Regions from separate parts of the Homo sapiens genome. Here region 1 is linked to region 2. The links are contacts of gene promoters, found by promoter capture Hi-C in blood cells and fetal thymus (Javierre and others, 2016). All regions are on one chromosome and are shown on one strand. The core of a region is centred on a gene start or on the middle of the fragment in contact, and the rest is flanking DNA. Distances in the headings are between cores, read along the strand shown. Region 1 overlaps PTPRE (protein tyrosine phosphatase receptor type E). Region 2 holds the start of CLRN3 (clarin 3).

Region 1 (5,679 bases), core at 2,193-4,692, 67 kb after region 2:
AGTATGATTTCAGGAGTTGCATATATATAGGTGCCAAGTTGACAAGGGGTGGGCTTGTGATGGTTAATTTTAGGAGTCGACTATATTAAAGAATATCTAAAAACCTGGTAAAACATTATTTTGGGGTGTTGTCTGAGGGTATTTCCAGAGGAGATTAGCATTTGAGTCCAAGTGGACTAGATGAGAAGCCACACTGCCAGCATCTCAGGGACTCCACCTTGCAAACGGCTTCTCAAGGGACTCCTCAGCCACAACTGTGTGAACCAATCTCCCTAATAAATCCCCTCTCATATGTCTATATATTCATTGCATTGATTTTTGTTTCTCTGGAGAATCCTGACTAATACAGACATCTTGGTTGCTTCCAAGTTTGGGCAATTAAGAATAAAGCTGCTATATACATACATATGTGGGTTTTTGTGTGGACATAAGTTTTCACCTCATTTGGGCAAATGCCAAGGAGTGCAATTGCTGGATCATATGTTAAGTGTGTTTAGTTTTATAAGAAACCACTAAACTATCTTCCAAAGCAGCTGTACCATTTTGCATTTGAAGCAATAAATGAGAGTTCCTGTTGCTCCAAATCCTTACCAGCATTTGGTGTTGTCAGTGTTCCGGATTTTGGCTATTACAATAGGTGGGTAGTGGTGTCATATTGTTGCTTTAATTAGCAATTCCCTAAAGACAGATGATGATGAGCATCTTTATGTATGCTTATTTTCCATCCATATGTTTTCTTTGTTGATGTGTCTGTTCTGGTCTTTGCCTGTTTTTTTAATGGGATTGTTTATTTTCTTATTGTGAGTTTTAAGAGTTTTTTTTGTACATTATTGATAAAAATCCTTTATCAGATATGTTCTTTGCAAATGTTTTCTCTCCAGTCTGTGGCTTGTCTTCTCATTACCTTGACAGTGTCTTCTGCAGAGCAGGAAGTTTTTAATCATTATGAGGTTCAATGTATCAATTCTTTCTTTTATGGGTCATGTTTTTGGTATTGTATCTAAAAAGTCATCCCCTTATCCAAGGTCATCTAGATTTTTTTCTGTTATTTTCTAGAGTTTTATAATTTTGCATCTTACATTTAGGTCTATGATCTATTTTGAGTTAATTTTTTGTGAAGGGTATAAAGCCTGTGTGTAGATTCATTTTTTGCATATGGATTTACAGTTGTCCCAGCACCGTATGTTGAAAAGACCATCAATCTTTCTGCCTTTGTATTGCCTTCACTCCTTTGTTAAACATAGTTGACCATATTTATGTGGGTCTATTTCTCTTCCATTCTGTTGGATTTTTTCCTTCAGATTTGTTACATAGATAATCATGTAATCTGTGAACAAGAATATTTGCATTTTTACTTCTTAATCTGTATACCTTTTATTTTCTTGTCTCATTGCAACAGCCATGACTTCCTGTATGATATCAGAAAGGCTCTCCATTCTGTTCCAATGATGTTGATTATTTTACTGAAGCTTTATAGTTAAGTCTTGGGGTCAGGTAGTGTCAGTCCTCCAACTCTGTTCTTCTCCTTCAATATTGCGTTGGCTATTGTGAGTCTTTTGCCTCTCTGTATAAACTTTAGTATCAGTTTGTTGACATCCACAAAATAACTTGGTGGAGATTTTGACTGGGATTGCATTGAATCTGTAGATCAAGTGAAAGAACTGACATCCTGACAGTTTTAAATTTGTTTATCCGTGAACACGGAATGTCTCTCCATTTATTTAGTTGTTATTTGATTTCTTTCATCAGAGTTTTAATATAGATCTTGTACATATTTTGTTAGGTTTATGCCTAGGTATTTCATATTTAGGGATGCTAATATAAATAGGATTGTGTTTTTAATTTTAAATTTCACTTGTTCACTTCTGGCATACAGAAAAGTGACTAACTTTTTGTATTAACTTTATACCCTGAAACATTACTATAGTTACCTATTAGTTCCAGGAGGTTTTTTTGTTTTGTTTTTATTCTTCCAGGTTTGTTACATAGATAATCATGTAATCTGTGAACAAAAATATTTGCATTTTTTACTTCTTAACCTGTATATCTTTTATTTTATTTTCTTGTCTCTGCAATAACCATAACCTCCCATATGATATCAGAAAGGAGTGTCAAGAGAGGACATCCTTGCCTCGTTCCTGATCTTAGTGGGAAAATGTCTAGTTTCTTACCATTAACGTATGACATTAGCTGTAGGTTTTTCATAGCTGTCCTTTATCAACTTGAGGAAATTTCCTTCTATTCCTTGTTTGTTGAGAGTTTTCATCATGAGTCAGTTTTGAATTTTGTCACGTGCTTTTTTTTGCATCTGTTGATATAATCTTGTGATTTTCTTCTTTAGCCTGTTGATGTGATGGATTACATTAATTGATTTTCAAATTTGAATCAACCTTTTATACATGGGATAAATCCCACTTGGTTATGGTGAATACTTATTTTTATACATTTTGGATTTGATTTGCTAATATTTTGTTGAAGATTATGCAGCTAAATTCATGAGAGATATTGGTCAATAGTGTTGTTGTTTTTTTTCTTGGAATGCCTTTGGTTTTGGTATTGAGGGTAATATGGGCATCATACAATGAGTGTTCCCTATGCTTCTATCTTTTGGAAGAGATCATAGAAAATTGATTTAATTTATTTCTTAAATATTTGGTAGAATTCACCAGTGACTCATCTGTGCCTGGTCCTTTCTGTTTTAGAAGATTATTAATTATTTATTTATTTTCTTCAATAGATATAATTCTATTCAACTTGCCTTTTTTTTTTTTTTTTTTTCCTGAGACGGAGTTTCACTCTTGTTGCCCAGGCTGGAGTGCAATGGCACGATCTCAGCTCACTACAACCTCCTCCTCCTGGGTTCAAGCGATTCTCCCATCTCGGCCTCCCGAATAGCTGGGATTACAGGCATGCGCCACCACACCCCGCTAATTTCGTATTTTTAGTAGAGATGGTGTTTCTCCATGTTGGTCAGGCTGGTCTCGAACTCCCAACCTCAAGTGATCCGCCTGCCTTAGCCTCCCAAAGTGCTGGGATTATAGGCATGAGCCACCACGCCCGGCTGAAATTGCCTATTTTCTTTTTTTAAACAGAAATCCAGGTTAACAACAAGTTGGGACTTGAGGGGAGTGGAGAAAAACAGTGCAAGAGTTTCCTAAAAGCTTACCCAGTTCATGCATTCACTCATTCATTCATTTGTACATTCATTCATTTGGTAATTCACTCAATAGCCTCCTACTGAACCCATTTACCAGAAATAAGTCCTGCCTCAAGATGATAGCATATGCCTTTCTTATGCCTTCCTGGGCATTTTCTTGAATTACTTTTTTGTGGTTGTTTTTAATGTGTAAATATACATCCCCAATAACTCAGACTCATTAATTTATGTTTGTAATAATTGTTGAAATAAGTTTGACAGAAGGTGACCTTTCTGAATTTGCAAAGAAAGTGATTGCCAGGCAAATTTAAAGCAGAAGTCCATTGTGGGGAAGATGTTGTGTCCAAAGCCACACACTTTTCAACGAGCTTTAAGCACTTTCTCCATAGTGTTGAGGGCACAACTGTGGAGTCAGACCTTCCCCAGTATGATCCTGGGTCAGCTACTTCCCAGCAGGGTGACTTAGGATTGTCTCCTTGTCTCTTTAATTCTCCTTTCCCTGACTGTAAAGTGCAAATAATATGACCCACCTTGCAGGCTGCTTGTGAGGGTCCATGAGATATTATGAAGCTTCTAGCACAGTGCTTGGCAGGGCACTGATGGGAGCTCTTACCTTTATTATTAATTCATTCAAAGGGAGATTTACTGATACTCTCTTTAGTGCTGTAAGAGATGTGACGATATCAAAGCTAGTGCCTGTCCTCTTGGAGAATGTAACTCTTTGGGGAAGCTAGGACAGATGCAGATTATTACTATGTAAGATGGGAAGTAATAAAAGACCTGGGAAAACAAGTGAATGGCAGACGCAGGTCAGAAAGGAGACCAATCCCTCCAGCTTGGGCATGCTTGCTGGCATGCGGGTGCCCCAGGGACTCGAGATCCTGTTGCTGAATGATCAGATGGTGGCATCTGGGGTGGACACTGAAGGACGAGGCTGGCTGTGTGTGTGACAGCAGACCTTTCTCCCTGCTGCCTGTGCTGTGCTTTCATACTGCAGACACCCAGCAAGTGAGCGCTGAGTTAGATTCCAGAGAGAGAGTTCAAGAAAATGCATAGCAGCAGACAAACCCCTCTATCGTTAATAGCAAAGATTTCTTATTTGTTCATTTGCAAGATCCTTTGTCAAATTCTTCTGGCCTTGGGCCCTTTGATCACTTCTGTGTCCTGTGCACTTAAGTCTGGTGGATTCCTTCTTGCCCCTCAGCACTCAGCTCTGGCAGCCGTGCCTCCCCCGAGTCCGGTCTGACCGTTCCCTGCAGCTTTACCTGGTTCTCTGTGAGCCTGAGCACTTGGGCTGCTCCATCTTTCAACAGCCCCAGGAGTTGGTCTGAGTCATCTTGGACCTCCTAGCTCAATAAATGTGTAAACTTGCCATAGCCCAGATCTTGCTCTGATTTATCAGCATTTAGCCATTAGTCCAAATACGTGAGGCTTTTCAAAAAATACAGAAACAGCCGGGCGCGGTGGCTCACGCCTGTAATCCCAGCACTTTGGGAGGCCGAGGTGGGCGGATCACTAGGTCAGGAGATCAAGACCATCCTAACATGGTGAAACCCCGTCTCTACTAAAAATACAAAAAAAATTAGCCGGGCGTGGTGGTGGTCACCTGTAGTCCCAGCTACTCAGGAGGCTGAGGCAGGAGAATGGCGTGAACCCGGGAGGCAGAGCTTGCAATGAGCTGAGATAGCACCACTGCAGTCCAGCCTGGGCCAAAGACCCAGACTCTGTCAAAAAAAAAAAAAAATACAGAAACAAGTAGTTCCCACTCACCCTTCCTCTCTGCTGTTAGTGTGCATTCAGACGATGCCAAGGAACGGGCTTCTCTGGGCAGAGCCGGGGCTTTGCGAGGGGTCTTTCTCAGCCACACGTGTCCAGCATGTATGTGGCCTTCTCCTGGGGCATAGAAGTACTTATTTCAGACCACACAAATGAAAACGATTAACATTCAGCAAAATATCCCAGCTGCAGTCTAATTATTTCCTATGGTTGTTGGTGACAGCGTCCCCTTTTTGGAGCAGGGTTGGCCGGAGGCAGGATGAGAACAGTGTGGGCTTGTTGGGGAGGTGTTGTAAGGCACCCAGCACAGAGAATTGAAAAGCCTTCTTTAGAAGCTTCTCTCTGGGGCAGGGTGGGGGTGGGAGAGGAAACGGTAAAGACCCACAGTGGCCTGGGCTCTTCTCTCCAGCAAGATGCAACAGGACAGGGAAGGAGGGCCCCCAGGAGGCCCCTGGGGTGGCCTGGAACTTGAGAATGAACTGATGCTGGCAGGCACAGCCTTCTTCACTTCTTCACAAGGGTGGGCCCCGCCTTAGACTGCTGGGTGACACCTGTGCATAAGCGCTCCACCCCCCAGCGAGAGAAAGCGGGCCGCTAGGACTGGCTGTCCTTTACTGTGTGACTCTCCCCAGCGTCTTGTCTGTCCCTTCCTACCTGTCACTGCACTTGGTAGTCACATATTTATTTGTACCTTGGTGTATTTATTCCTGTCTCCCCCACAAGACTGCAGGCAGCACTGAGAACCC
Region 2 (5,621 bases), core at 736-3,235:
TGGGTGGTGGTTCACCTTCTTCAGCACTAGGAGGTTGGGCAGTGACTTGGGGAAGGTCAGAATGTGGCTCCCCAGTAACAGAGACTTAAAGTAGAGATCCAGCAAAGGGAAGGCAAATATTCTGCCTGGCTGTGCTCCCACCTGGGCTGCCGCACCTACCTGGCCCTGGGCCCCTTCAGGGCTCTCCTTGACAAGTGCCTGCTCTGGTCCCCTGACATCACCATGCTCACCTGCATGCACACAGGGCTTTAGAGCCAGGTCCTGACACATCCTGGCCTCCTCTGAGTCTCCGTGCATAGAGATAGTTGATGCTTTCTTTGAAGCCATTTATCTCAAATTGGAAATCAACTGGTTCCAAACAGACACCATATGGAAACCAAAAAAAACTGTAGGTTTTGTCTCTTACTTAAAATTTGTTAAATGTGTCTGAGGCTTCAGGGCAGTTTTTGGTTTTGAAAATGCTATTCACATAACTGAAAGCATGACTGAGTCTCTGAAAGTTGCTGTAAAGCCAATGTTCCCCATCCTTATGGGAAGCTGAGGTTGACACCAGAGGAGATGTCCCTGAAAGGCTATGGCAATGCTAGGGGAGATGCTGCTTTTGCTAACATCTAAATGACAAATGTATAACTTGGGAACATAACCAGGTTGCTTTGGATTTAAGAAAATAGTTTCATTAACAAAGTCATAAACACACTAGAGCTAGAACTTAGAGCTAGTGTCTAGGACTCAAACTTCTTCATGCATTACACAAGGACTAAACATTACATGTGTATAAGGTAGAAAATGATGCATATTTATAAGTCAAAAGGTAATGACTGTATGATACCCAATAATGCCTGTATAATACTTGCATACAACATTGTTCAAAACAAAGTCCACTTAATGTGTTACATAATTTACAAATGTTTTTAAATTTAGAAAACATGAAGGTAGGTTATCAAACCTCAAAAGTCAAATAAGTAGCTAAATCAACTTATTATTCTCAATGAACTTTTAATTTTACTTCCATGGAGAGGAGGGCATTATTATATAAGAAATCAGAAAAAAAAATGTTTAGGAATTCCTATCAAATATACAATTAATAAATTAATGGAAATTTAATATAATTTCCAACGATTAGATTTTTTGGAGGTAAATTAAAATCAGTTAAAGAAATGAACTTGAGAAATAGAGATAATAAATTTTCCATTTTACTCTTTCCTGCATAGATGCCACTTGTGAAGTTCTAGACAGAGGTTGTGGCTCCAGCTAAAAACCCAGTCAATACAGTTAAAACATGTGTTCCTACTGGCTATTCAATGCCGTATTGCTGCCACATATTTTTACTTATTTACTTGTCAGTCAACTTGGTAGGTATTATTTAAATACAGCCACTGCTAGAATGATATAGACTATTGTATTAATAGACACAAGGAGAACCGAGGAAGCTCAAATAATGACATGGCAAATTTCCAAAATTATGAGTTAAGCTTGTACCTTCAGCCTAACCCAAAACTTACAAAGAAATTATTTTTGAATGGTTATTTGGCCCAAATATAGAATGACATAAACCTTAATTCAATCTCACTATATTCATTCAAATTAGTTTATCATTTACCTGCAAACTTTTTCTTTGGTTCTGCAAGTCCGTGACTCAATTCTTCACTACTCTCCCCACGAAAAAGTCCGTAAGTGATGAAAATGCTCCCATTTGAAGCAGAGTCTCTAACAGCAATTGTACTGGTGATCCATGCTTGTGTCCCAAGAATAGAGCAAATTACAATGAAGGACCCAAGGCTGGTGAAAAAGCTTGATAAGAACATCAATGTCTTCTTTGTGGTAGGCATTTTCACAGGAAAATAAGTTCTCTAGGACAAAAAAAGGAATATCTTCTTATAACACTTTTGAACCTTATCTTTTGAAGTCTGGTATTTAGAAATGGAGTCTAACACTTTATTGTCAAATATAAAATCTCACTCTTCCTGAGGAAGGGTTATGCTAATGGACATTGAACTCTGAACATGGCCATAAAATTAACAGTAGCTGAACTTTGGTCTGGAGTAAGAGGCTGCTATGGTTACAGCCAACCAGCATGAACAAGGGGTGGGCATGGTCTTCCCAGGGACTTCCTCAATCATGCAATTAATTTATAATCCTTGGCCAAGTGTCATGGAAGCAAGTTTAGCCTACCATATCATGACAGGAGTAGAATTCCTAAATAATAGGGCGTGGAGGATCTGTATTCCCAAAGCGTTGCTGAGTCTAGCAGACAACAACATGAAACCCCAACTCCTCCAAGAATTATTGGAAATATGTAAACATATACTTCACTATTGTGGATATTTATGTTGCTTCAATTTCACAATTATGATTGAGAAAGAACAACACCCAAATATCTTTAGGCATAAACCTTTGTTCATATCTCCACTTGCTTCCTTGCTTAAACTTCTAGAAGTTTGACGAAGTCTGTGGATTTTTCTGAAGTTTTTGCTATGCATTGCTCAGTTTCTTTACTCATTAGTGATTTGACTCTTATAATTGTTCCAAGAGGAATCCTAAGGAGGGTAAACCTTTGTCAAATGTACTGTGGAGTGGAAAGAGAAAAGCTTACACCTCCTTATGTTTTATACCTCTCTATTTTTAGACTTTATCAGAGAGGTTTGGCTTTCAAATTTCCTCTTTCAAATTGGATCATATTTGCGTATTATTTAAATTATATCTTGAGAAGTTTCATCTTTATTACTTTTTAGTACTCTGATAGAGATGGTTCTGAACATTCTTGTTTTTGGTCGTTATAGCTGTATCCACTCTGTTGAATGGTAAATAGTTTATAAATGGTCATTTCTGGACTTTCGAAAAACTCTCCCATTTGGCGAAAAGATCATTTCTTGAGATGATAAATAGACATTCATAGCATGTTTTCCATACCGCTTTTTACTGTATTCTTTGATTATTTAGTAATATAATATTAAGTTGGTGCAAATGTAATTGCAGTTTTTGCCATTAAAAGTTACATTTACTTTTAATGGCAAAAAAACGCAATTACTTCATCCTCTACTTTTCTTCATTAACACCTAACTTATTTGTGGAACTAGCTGATCATCTGTCTTTTCCGTTATTGTAACTAGATGACATGCTCCGGGAGGTGGACATGTTTGTTTTGTGTACCACTGGATTCCAGGGAACTCTCAAAGAGCCTGGCCCAGAGAAGACACTCAGCAAACATTTGTTCAATAAATTATTGGAGATACGTACACACATACTCTACTACTGTGGACACTTATGTTGTTTCTATCTTAAAATTATGATTAAGGAAGAACAATGCATGAACATCCTTATGCATAAACCTTTGTCCATATCTCTGATTATTTCTTTGGTTAGACTTCTAGAAGTGAGTCAAAGTCTGTGAATGTTACTGAAGCTGTTGCTACACATTGCCCAGCTGCTCATTAGAAAAAGATACCAGTCACCCACCATGCCCTTAACACAATGAAGGTGCACACTTTCCTACATCCTCAAAACATGTATATTATTGGGAAAATTTACTATTTTTTCCATTTAAGTCTATTTATTTTGACCACACTTTTAAAGGGTGGGACAGAATTTCAGTAGTTAGTTCCTTCTGGCCCTATTCCTAGTGTGGAAAATAATTTTGTATTTATTATTGTATTTTGTATTACATAGGCCTATTACAAAAATGTATTCAAATGGAACTGGCAAGAATAAAGAAGAAAGTAAATATAATAAATAATTTATCCAACAAGAAGTAATTGTGTTCACAGTTGGGCAAAGACTTTCATACCTACAGCTTTATGTCTTAGCTTCCTGCTGCTATAACTGAACACCTGAGGCTGGGTGATTTATAAAGAACAGAAATTTATTTCTTATGGCTCTAAAGGCTGAGGAGTCCAAGGTCAAGGGGCTGCATCTGGTGAGGGCCTTCATGCTAGTGAGGATTCTGAGTCCTGAGGTGGCACAGGGCGCGCATCATGGTGGCCAGATAGCAAGTGGGCTGACAGTGCTAGCTCAGGTCTCTCTTCCTATTCTTATAAAGCCACCAGTCCCACCCCGGAGAAAACCCATCGATCCATTAATCCATTAGTCCATGAAATAATTAATACATTCATGAGGGCAGGGCCCTCATAATTCCATTGCCTCGTAAAAGTGACAACTTTCCATACTGCCACACTGAAACTCACCAATATGAGTTTCAGAGGAGACAAACATCTGGTGTAGCACCATGCACACATTTATAATACAATTGAGTCCTACTCTATGTTCTATTTTATAATCTGCTTCATAAAAATTTCAACAACTTGCCATGGCAATCCTTTCATGTCAATAGATCACATTTACCATTGTATAAAGCAACCACAAATTATTTCTACAAACCCTTTTTGGTGGACATTGAGGTTGTTTCTAGCTTTTCACTGCTGTACCCGTGATGTGGTGATACTCCTTTTATGTTCGACCTTGCTAACCTTTCTAGGTATTTCCTTGAGATAAATTCTGAGAAGGAGAATTGTTGAGTCAACCAAAAATATGTGTTCACCAGCTGAAAGTGTGTCCCAATTTAAATTCCTGCCAACAGCATTTTGCATTAGAGTCCCCAATTTCCACAGCTTCCCCACAGCATAGTATTGCTACTATTTTTAATCTTTCACAAGCTGGGAGACAAGAAGTAGCTTGTTGGCATTATTTGATTTTTACATGTCAGTTAGAGTTACTATATTCTAATAAGATTATTACCCATGTGTATTTTTACTGACACAGTTTTCTGTTTATGATGTTGGCTCCTTTATTATATAGAGAGGTTTTTTATTTATGATTTTTTGTACAGTAAAGATAGTAAACCTTTGTCAGTTCTGTGTATCTTGTGGATATATATATATGTATACTGAAATATATTCATTGAATATATTTATTCATTTTGTTATTTGCATTTCAATCATATTTATACATTTATACATTTTAAACATATGTGTAGATATTTTGCTGGCTCAGGTTAAAAATGTCTATGTAACCGAATATTTCAGTCTTATACTTTATACTTTCTGGATTTGGTATCCCAACTCCAAAGTTATTAAGGCTATTTACATATAAAAACCAACTCAAGTTTGTGTGAAACAGAAAAGTGATTTTTTTTTTAAAGATACAGGATTATTTTGCATTCCCCAAGGTGAGGTGACAATGAGAACTCAGGAAATTACTAGAACTAGAATTTCTATTGCCTTCTCTGCTCCTTACTGCATATCTGTTTCATTTCCTGGGTTTTTTTCTAATATTAAATTTTATCTTTCCTGCTATTCTGTTGCTGTCTTTTATTTTGTTTTTCCTCTTCTAATTTTCTGAAATGAATATTTTATTTTCTTAATTATTTTGTTTTTGCATTAATAAAATATTTAAAACCATGAATATTTTTCTCTTCATATATATATATGTCTTTGGCTAGGTTCCATAGGTTTTTACATATGTAAATTGGCATTTAACATCTTGAAATTGCATTTTTTATTTCCTGTTTGTTGAGGACAAAGTTTGTAAGATAATTGTATGGTAGCATTATTTCTATTTCGGTTATTTGTTTCTAGTTGTCTATAATTTTAATCAAATAATGTGATCTTAAAATACATCTACTCTTA

Evidence for each region. Contacts are between HindIII fragments. The CHiCAGO score rates a contact against its expected background, and 5 or more counts as called.
Region 1: a fragment that was not itself captured here is called in contact with the fragment with the promoter of CLRN3 in region 2 in 1 of 17 cell types (monocytes); the score reaches 5.9 in monocytes.

What each region holds. Positions count from the first base shown.
Region 1 is chr10:127,956,133-127,961,811 of GRCh38, forward strand. All of the region lies in intron 1 of PTPRE (protein tyrosine phosphatase receptor type E), which reads left to right. Among named protein-coding and RNA genes, the nearest start is that of PTPRE-AS1, 25 kb to the left of the region's middle. The HindIII fragment of the contact is 566 bases long and covers 3,160-3,725 here.
Region 2 is chr10:127,890,956-127,896,576 of GRCh38, forward strand. CLRN3 (clarin 3) reads right to left here and starts at 1,986. Exons shown (of 3, transcript NM_152311.5): 1 at 1,601-1,986. The coding sequence starts at 1,829. The HindIII fragment of the contact is 797 bases long and covers 1,790-2,586 here.